3 separate regions of the Homo sapiens genome follow, and regions 2 and 3 are each linked to region 1. Evidence: promoter capture Hi-C in human tissues and cell types (Jung and others, 2019). All regions are on one chromosome and are shown on one strand. Each heading gives the region's core, a stretch centred on a gene start or on the middle of the fragment in contact. The rest is flanking DNA. Distances are from core to core; before and after follow the strand shown.

What was found. The method cuts DNA at HindIII sites, captures the fragments that hold promoters and counts their contacts. A contact is called where the count stands out against the background at its distance.
Region 2: a contact is called between a fragment that was not itself captured here and the fragment with the promoter of ZNF618 in region 1, in 4 of the 25 tissues and cell types used here (adrenal gland, bladder, liver and 1 more).
Region 3: a contact is called between a fragment that was not itself captured here and the fragment with the promoter of ZNF618 in region 1, in 2 of the 25 tissues and cell types used here (aorta and spleen).

Annotation. Positions count from the first base shown.
Region 1 is chr9:113,874,553-113,877,993 of GRCh38, forward strand. It overlaps ZNF618 (zinc finger protein 618), which reads left to right and starts at 1,757. Exons shown (of 15, transcript NM_001318042.2): 1 at 1,757-1,861. The coding sequence starts at 1,829. RefSeq lists an enhancer at 1-181. The HindIII fragment of the contact is 30,531 bases long and covers 1-3,441 here.
Region 2 is chr9:113,800,150-113,803,451 of GRCh38, forward strand. No RefSeq gene overlaps it. Among named protein-coding and RNA genes, the nearest start is that of ZNF618, 75 kb to the right of the region's middle. The HindIII fragment of the contact is 4,669 bases long and covers 1-3,302 here.
Region 3 is chr9:113,764,913-113,767,891 of GRCh38, forward strand. No RefSeq gene overlaps it. Among named protein-coding and RNA genes, the nearest start is that of ZNF618, 110 kb to the right of the region's middle. The HindIII fragment of the contact is 7,375 bases long and covers 1-2,979 here.

The sequences.
Region 1 (3,441 bases), core at 507-3,006:
GCCAGGCTGGTCTCCAATTCCTGACCTCGTGATCTACCCGCCTTGGCCTCCCAAAAGGATTATTTGCGTGAGCCACCACTCCCGGCCAGAAGACTCCTTTTAACGTCTTGTGTTATGAGTGTTTGTTAAGGGGGGCAAGAGTTGTGTTTCTTAATTTCATGTCTCCCATATAGGGCTAAACTCCCAATTTAACTTATTAGGGAAAGGAGGTGTCTTCTACACAGTGCCTCCGTTTCCTAAAATTTTAAAAATAACTTTTTTGAGGATTGTAGGGAAAACATTTCTGTAACCTTTCCTGTCTCATATTGCTCCAGTTCTTTAAACATTACAAAAAAGAACATTTGATTTTTGAAGGTGGGGGCAGAGAGAAGATACCTGGTTACTCTTAATTTCCAATGCTTTTATTTTTGAAAAGTACCCTTGCAGTTTTCTTTTGGGGAGGGGCAAAGAAGGATTTCTGTTCACCTTGCATCTCATAGAAGAGCAATTCTTAACATTTTTATTCCAAAAATCAACCAGTTGTGGGAGATGTAGGATGGATCCAGTAATCCCTCCTTGTCTCTATAATAGGGCAGGTCCTTCATACTTTCAATTTTTAAAAAATCGGATTTTTTAGGAGAATAGGGAAGAGAATAGAAAAAAAAATCCCTTTTAAACTTTCCCAAGTCACAAGGAGGCAGTTGCTCAAGTTAAAAAAAAAAAAACAACAATAACAACAACAAAAAAACTGGCTATTTTGGGGTGTTGGAAAGAAATATCCTGGTTCACGTTTTATTTCACATGCAAGTTTCTCAAATTTTCCTTCTCTAAATCAACCTAACTGGGGGATATGGGGGTGGGGGGCGCTAATATCCCTTAACCTTTAACCCCTCTTGTCTTACTGTAGGACCAGTTTTTCAAACTTTTATTTAGAAATACATATATATATTTTAATTTGGCAAGGATAGGCAGAAACAGCCGCTTCACTGGCATTTCACATAAAAGCGGCTCCTCAAGTATTTATTTTAAAAATCAGTCTGGCTGGGGGGCTAGAGTCCCCTTAACCACTCTTGTCGGACATGGGGCCAGTCCTTCAAACTTTTATTTTATTACATTAGTTTTTTTGGGAGGAGTGGCAGGGCAATAGAATATTCCCAATAAGCCTTCCAGTCTTCCAGCAAGCCAGCTCTTGAAAACTTTTATTTCAAAAATCAATCTGGTTTTTTTTTGGCGGGGGGGTACAGCGGGGTACAGAGTTCCCATTAACCTCTTGCGTTCCGCCGAGAGCCGGCTCCCTGAACTTTTTTTCCAGCGTGAAAATGACATTTCCGAGGGGCTGGGGGACTGGGGGAGGGCAGAAGGGAGCCGGGGAGCGGGCGCGGGGGGCGCGGGGAGGGCAGGGCGCGGCGCGGGAAAGTTTGGGGGGGCGGGTGTGCCGCGGCACTGGGGCTGGCGGACGGGAGGGCGGGCGCGCCCCTGGACCGGCCGGCTTTGTGTGCCACGCGGAGGCCGGCAGCGCGGAGGCCGAGGCCGAGGCCCCGAGCTCGCGGGCCGCACGGCGAGGCCGGCCCGGGGGCGGGCAGGGCGGCGGGGGGCGGCGGCGGCCCCGCGAGGGGCGGCTCGGCGGCAGCGGCTGCCGCGGCGCGGCCGGTGCGGGCCGGGGGTGGGGGCGAGGGCCGGCGCCCCCCCCGCGCGCCCCCAGCGCCCCCGCCCCCCCGGCCTGAGCGGGGCGGGCGGAGGAGGGAGCGGCGGCGGCGGCGGCGGCGGCGGCGGCGGCATTGTGCGCGCACCAGCAGCCCGGCCCGGGAGGAGCAGGACGCGCCGGGGCCGCCTCCTCCCGCACGGACCCATGAACCAGCCGGGCGGCGCGGCGGCTCCGCAGGTACGACGGGGGGCCGGGGGCATGCACCGCGCGGGGGACCCCGGGGGGCCGGGGCCCGGGGCGCTGCGCCACTTCATTGCAAGATTTGCAAAATGCAAAGTGCCTGGGCACGTTTGCGGGCTTTTTGTGGGCGCAATCGGGAGGGTCGGGGTCCGGAGAGCACCCCCCCGGGCGCTGCGGGGTGCGAGGAGGGTGGGGGTGACGAGGGGGTCTTTTGGGGCCCCCACCCAGCGCCCCCTCCGGCCCCGGGCTCGGACCGGAGCCCAGAAAACAAAGCGGCGAGAGAACAGAGCAGCCATTTCAGTTTGGACAATTCACATTTTGCAAAAATGCAACCCCTTCCAGCTCTGCCCCCTCCCCCCCAAATTTGCAATTTTCCCCTGACCCTCTCTGCGCTCGGGGTCCCCGATGACCCCCCGGGAGGTCTTTCCCCCCAGGTCCCCCATTTTTGCAACAATCTTTTTTTTTAGGCCATATTTTCCTTTCTCAATTTTTTTTTTCTAATTTTTCTTCAAACGGTAGTTTTTTCCCATTAAAACGACGCCACCTAGAGGATACTATTTTGTAAATAAAAAAGAAATTAAAATTGAAAAGAAATATTTTTTATTTCTTATTTTTTCAAAAGTTTGCACTACCAGGCAGTGGAGGGGTAAGAGATTCTTTTTTTTTCTTTTTTCGGGTGAAAATTTTCACTTTGATCTTTCCAGAAGCATGGAGACAATTTTTATTTCTGAAGCCAAATCCAGATAATATGTAAATGAAAATTAAGCTGGAATTTGAATGAATTTAGTTCTTGGAGGGGAGAAAGCAAAAAACCTCCTAAAAGCAAAGTCAGTTTGGGTACCCAACTCATTTTAGTTTGAGAAAAAAACTAATTGGAATAAAGAAAGGAGGGAAATTGTTGAGTTTAGGGAAAACTGAGAGAATTGGCTTTATGAAGCAATTAGAAATTGTACTTCATTGTAATTTGGAACTTGTTTAGCTCAGCGGGCAAAAAAAGACTAATTTCTCTATATGGCAATATTTAAAGTTTTTCTATTTCCACGAACGAAGGATTTAAAAGAGAAAATAGAACCTAAAATGTTGGCTTTGGACACACCCAAAAATTGTAGTTTTTTTTTTTTAATTTTGCATTTACATTTTACTGCATTTAAATCCTAAGATTCTAAAGAAAACAGAAACTAGAAAAGTTACAGTGAAATCCTTTCTTTCTTTTTTTCTGTATTTGTTGGGTTTTGTGTGTGTGTGTGTTTTTTTTGTTTTGATGGAATAATTAAGACTGTTTTCTGATTTTGTTTCCTGAAAGGTCTAGGCATTTCTTTTTTGTTGTTGTTTTATCCAGAAAATGTCAGGAACCTTTTTTGAGCAATATTAAGTGGAAAAAATGTAAATTCATACATTATACAAATTGAGTAGCCCACAGATTTGTAGGAGAGACCGCCATTAAAATAAGATATGCATAATTAACATTATTATGAAAAAACTAACAGTGGATTCACAGAAGCTCATTTTTTATGACATGCAACTGAATCAATTGATGAAGACAAGGATTGAGGAATCCTTGGTAAGGAAGAAAATTT
Region 2 (3,302 bases), core at 331-2,830, 75 kb before region 1:
GTCCTGCCACTTCTAAGACCCTATCCTCAGAAAACAGCAGCTGTGGAGGGGCCCACTCCTCACTTCCGTCTCACGCAGACCACCCACGCTTTGGCCCCTGCCTTCCCCTTCTGATGTCCTCGTAACTGCCCCAGGACTTGTTCTGTAAGGGGCTTTTCCTTGGCAGGCAATTACCTGAGTTCATATGGTTAATTGAAATATTCCTTTTCCTAGAGTTTTAATTCATCCAGCGTAGTTTCAGGAGCCACAGATAATAAGACCTAATTTATAATTAGGGCTTATCAAGAATCAGCTAATTTCTAGACCCCTGATTCCCAAGGAGGGAGTGTAGAGTGGGGGCCTCTCTTCCCTTTCCAGGGAGTTGCTATCCACAAAGCTCAAAGAGGCACCAGGGAGGAAAGAGAACTAATTGGTAGCTGGCCCTCCATCTTGGACAATTTATTAATTGGATTATGGGAAGTCTCAGGCCCCAGGCAAATCCCAAAGAGGCGCTGCTGCCTCCCCTGGTTTACTATGAGAATATTAGACACAAAGACACGAGACCTGGGTTCCACGCAGTCTTTCAGGAGCTAGGGATCTTTAAATAAGTCACTGAACACTGCCTTGCCTCAGTTTCCCCAGCTATACAATGACCAGGATCATCCCTGCCCTGCTGGGCTCTCAGAGATCTCCTGGGAATTACACAGATGACTGGGCAAGTACATTTCAGGAGCTGTCATGATTATTTTAGGGCCTGTGTGCCTGGAATGGGCCCAAAACACAGCCAGAAAAAGGTGTCCCAACCCAGGAAACAAGGTCTCAGAGAGACTGAGACTGGCCAAGACCCACAGGCAGTAAGAGTTGGGGGTCCGCCTTTGACCTCAGTTGGCCTTGTACCCGGTTTCCTGATCTTTCCTTACATCTGCAGATCTTTGGGGTCTTAGACCCAGTCTCCCTATTGCTTACCTGCTGCAAGCTTCACTTATCCCCTGAAGCCTCTCAAACATCCACCCAGCCAGTGCGAGTACAAGAAAGGGGTCATGCAGGGACCGTGGAGTGAGGACAACTTTGGAATCACATAGGCCTGATTTAAAACTCACACTCTGCCCTTTACTAGCTGTATACATCAGGATTCTTTGGGTTTCATGGGACAGAAACCCAGTTCTAATAACCTTAAGCTAAAGAGAAATATTAGCTAATGTATCCGGAAACTCTAGAGTTACTAGCTTTAGGTAGGGCTGGATCCAGGTGCTCAATGATGGTGACAGACCCCTCTTTCTTGCTTCAGCTCTTATTGTGATTTTTTTCTATGTTTACTTCATTCTTTTTTTTTTTTTTTTTTTGAGATGGATTCTCACTCTGTTGCCCAGGCTGGAGTGCAGTGGTGCCATCTTGGCTCACTGCAACCTCCACCTCCCATGTTCAAGTGATTCTTCTGCCTCAGCCTCCCATGTAGCTGGGATTACAGGCGCCCACCAACACACCCAGCTAATTTTTCGTATTTTTAGTAGAGATGGGGTTTCACCACGTTGGCCAGGCTGGTATCAAACTCCTGACCTCAGGTGACCTGCCCACCTTGGCCTCCCAAAGTGCTGGGATTACAGGCATGAGCCGCTGCGCCCAGCCGACTTCTTTCTATAGCAGGATTTCACCAGTGGTGGGAAAAGATGGTGGTACCTCATCCCTGGGGTGAGGGAGAGAAGGCGGAATAAGCTCACTACATAGACTGAGCAGGATTCCCTTGCAGCTGAGAAGAGTGGTTCTGCAAAGAAAGGGAGATTGGCAGGACAAAAAGCCAGGTCATCCCAAGCTAATCACGCACGCTGTGTGATCCTCTGTCTTCCTATCTTTACAACAGGATCGAAAACCATATTGCAGAATAAAAGAGTAATATATCAAAGTCTATTGTATTTCCATACACTAGCAATAAACAATCTGAGAACAAATTAAGAAAAACAATTCAATGTATAATAGCTTCAAAAGGAATAAAATACTTAGAAATAAATTTAACAAAAGAAGTGCAACACTTGCACACAAAAGCTACAAAACATTGTTGAAACAAATTAAAGACCTAAATAAATATAAAGACAACCTGTGTTCATGGAAGATTTCACATTGTTAAGAAGGCAGGACTCATCAGATTGCTCTATGATTGCTTTTTGTCCTGCTCTACATATTCAGTGCCATCCATGCAAAATTCCAAATTATTTTCTTCAGAAATGGATAAGCTGATCCTAAAATTCACATGGAAGTACAAGGGACCAAGAATAGCCAAAACAATCTTGAAAAACAAAATTGGAGAACTCACACTTTCTGATTTCAAAACTTTCTCAAAACTACAGTGATCAAGACAGTGTGATACTGGCCTAGGATAGACATAGGGTCAATGGCACTGACTTGAGAGTACAGAACTAAACCCATATATCTATGGTCAACTGATTTTCAACAAGGATGCTGAGACAATTAAATAGGGAGAGAATAGTTTTTTGAATATATGGCACTGCAACAATTGGCCATCCACATGTGAAAGAAGGAAGTTGGACCCTTACCTCACAAATTAGTTAAAAATTAACTGAAAAAGGATCGTAGATCTTCTAGCGAAAACTATAAAACTCTTAAAAGGGGCTGGGTGCAGTGGCTCATGCTTGTAGTCCCAGCAATTTGGGAGGCCAAGGCAGGGGGATCACGAGGTCAGGAGATGGAGACCATCCTGGCCAACACGGTGAAACCCTGTCTCTACTAAAAATACAAAAAAAAATTAGCTGGGTGTGGTGGTGCACACCTGTAGTCCCAGTTACTCGGGAGGCTGAGGCAGGAGAATCACTTGAACCCAGAAGGCGGAGGTTGGACTAGGCAATGGGTTTCTTAGATATGGCACCAAAACATAAGTGACCAAAAAGTGGGTAAATTGAACTTCATCAAACATTAAAAACATTTAGTTTTTTGAAACTTCTAATTTTTACTTAAAAGGGCACTATCAAGAAAGTAATAAAGAGAATGGGAGAAAATATTTACAAATCATATATCTGATAAGAGACTTTTATACAGAATATATAAAGAAATATTACAATTCAATCAAAAAACAAATAATTAAAAATTGGATTTATAATCAAATATCAAAAGATTTAAATGTGCATTTCTCCATGGAAGATATACAAATGACTGATAAGTACGTGAAAAGACATTCATCATTAATCACTCAGGAAATGCAAATCAAAACCACAAGGAGATAGCACTTCATGTCCACTAGGATGGCCATAGTCCAGAAGATGGTCATTAACAGGCATTGGCAAAGACGTGAAGAAATTGGAAGCTTCATTGGT
Region 3 (2,979 bases), core at 112-2,611, 110 kb before region 1:
TTAGATGGAGTGAGGGGAAGAATTGAAAGGAGACTAAGGAGAGGTGGTCAGAGAATTAGGAAGAAAACCAAGAGAATAGTATGGAGTCACCGAATCTAGGGACAGAGTCTTTGTAGAAAAGAAACAGGTCCACAGATTGAATGCTGCTGAGAAGGGCTGATGAGTGAATATGCCTGGTGATCTTGATGAGAATATTTCTGGTGAAATAGTGGGATTCTAGTGAGATTTTGGTGATCAGAGAACGAGAGAAAGGATATTCCAGGCTGAGGGGACTGAATCAGCATAAAAAGTGACCCAGCACAGAATAAACCATGTCTAGGGAATGGAGAAGAGAGAGTTGGAGAAATTCCAATTCCAGGAGGAATTCCAGTTTCAGGAGGTTGGATTATATTCTGTAGACATTAGGGAACCAAGGCAGATGTTGAGCACAGAAGTGTAATTAAGAGAAGATAAACATTTCTTTAAAAGAAGACTGCCTGCATGGCTCATGTCTGGGAAAACTGAGATTTTCCCAGGTTTCTTTGAAGATTAGTGTTTTAAGAACTAGGACCCAGTGGCTCTATCAGTCCTGAAGATTGAGCAGGGGAAGAATTCATTTCGTGTGATTACATAGAACCAAGCCATTTCCTGATACACCTACACTTGAGACTTGGGGAAATGGGATGTGGAGGATATGGGTACTAGTAATTCTGATGAGGATTTAATTAAGAACTCAATTTTCCCAGACTTCCAGTACTTGACTGCCTGATGTTTCTTTAATGGGAACTGTTGATATGTTCTAATTATGGCCGGTTATTTATGGGATCAGGTCTCATCTCTCTGCTCAATTATGTTTTGTTTGGGAGATCTGCATTCTTTTATGACTCTAGTTCTTAAGTGAGTCTATTGTCTTCCCCAAAGACACACTTAGTCTGGGGACCTCTCATCTGTGGCTTTTCCTCTACCAGAAATCCCACCACCCTTTTCCTTTCTCTTCTACTCATTGATAAATTCTGAAGCCATAGGGAAGGCAACTCCTCTCTCTCATATTCACAGCGCTATCTGTGGCTGTACTCTTGTCTGGCCCTGGATTTGCCCTGAAGACTCAGCTTAAAGGCTTCCTTTAAATGTTTGAGACAGGATTCTTTAAAATTATCTGAGTATTAGATGTCTTTGAAATTCTGAGAGAAGTACAAATTCCAGGTGCTCAGGGTCAAGACACACATTTGATAGTCTGAATCAGAAATAACTTACAGAGTTTCTTCATGGACGAAAAGCTTCTGGTTCACTACTTTGGAGATATTCTTATAAAGTACACTGGGTCCTAGAAAATGTGTGCTCCCATGGACACAAATTGAGGAATAACAGACACTGGGACCTACTTAAGGGTGAAGGGTGGGAGGAGGGAGAGGATCAGAAAAAATAACCATTGGGTACTAGGCTTAGTACCTAGGTGACTAAATAATCTGTACAACAACCCCCATGATGACACAAGTTTAGCTATACAACAAAGCTGCACGTATACCCCTGAACCTAAAATAAAAGCTAAAAAAAAAAAAAAAAGTGTGTTCCCTCTAGACCTGGAGTATCTTGAAAGCAAGGATCATTCTATTTACGTGTGTGTTGGGAAAAATAATTTTAATAGCAGAGAAGGAACTGTATTTTGAAAACTGCTTGGGAAAGCCTCTTAGAGGAGGAAATTGAGTCCATAAGAACATTAGCTGGAAGGAGACCTCAAAACAAGCTAAAAATTCTTCATAAGGAACAAACAAGAATTTTGAGTTGGCAGAGAATAGAGAAGGGGAAAAAGAGTAAAGAGAGAAAAGAAAAAGAAAGATGGAAACCTGGCATCATGGCAAGAGGCTGTAATATGGTTTGGCTGTGTCCCCACCCAAACCTCATCTTGAACTGTAGCTTCCATAATTCCCACATGTTGTGGGAGGGACCTAATGGGAGATAATTGAATCATGGTGGTGGTTTCCCCTATGCCATTCTCATGGTGGTGAATAAGTCTCATGAGATCTAATGTTTTTATAGGGGTTTCCTCTTTTGCTTGATTCTCATTCTCTCTTGCCTGCCACCATGTAAGATGTGCCTTTCACCTTCTGCCATGATTGTGAGGCCTCCCCAGCCACGTGGAACTGTGAGTCCATTAACCCTCTTTTTCTTTATAAATTACCCAGTCTCAGGTATGTCTTTATCAGCAGCATGAAAATGGACTAATACAGGCTGGAAACTGGAGGAGAGTGACCCATGAAAAATTTCTAGTGGTGAAGTGGCCAAAAGACTTCAAGTGACCAGGGATGTCAGTTTTCAGTGTGAAGTTACTGTGATGTTGTAGTGTAAATGCCCTCCTTCACACCTAAACCACAAGTCATAGTCTTCTATTTACATAAATGACCTGTGTGGGTGATCTGGGGGACTTCAAGAAAATGGAGCTGATTGCCACTCAAGATAAGATTAGTTGGAAGAGGCAGAAATACAGAACCAGAGGAGGAAGCATCTAAAAACCTTTGGAGATATTGGGAGGGGCACTGGGTTTTACTCTGAGTATCAGTCAGAATAGGAAACTTTATGCTGCAGTAATAAAGAACCTCCCCACTGCCAATCTAAGTGAGCCACAACCACAAATGTTTATTTCTCACTATGCTGTCATCAACCTCTCTGCACTTTGGGATTCAGGCTGATGGAGTAGCTCTTATCTGGGACATTGCTGATCAATAAGGCAGAGGCGAAAAAGAAGGTGATGAACCACACATTGACTTTTAAAGTTTCCTTTCAGCAATCTCACTTCTAATCGTGTTTAATTGGTTAAAGAAAGACACCTGGCCATGCCTGAGTTTAACAGGGTGGAATGTGCTCAGTGCCACCAGAAGAGGTACCAACCATGGTGAACAGACACACACCCTACCACACATTCTATCTTGGCTGTGGTTTGAACTGAAGTTTACTTAAACCTTAAAGGATAAGGTAGTAACTTAATACTTGGTAAATAAGTAC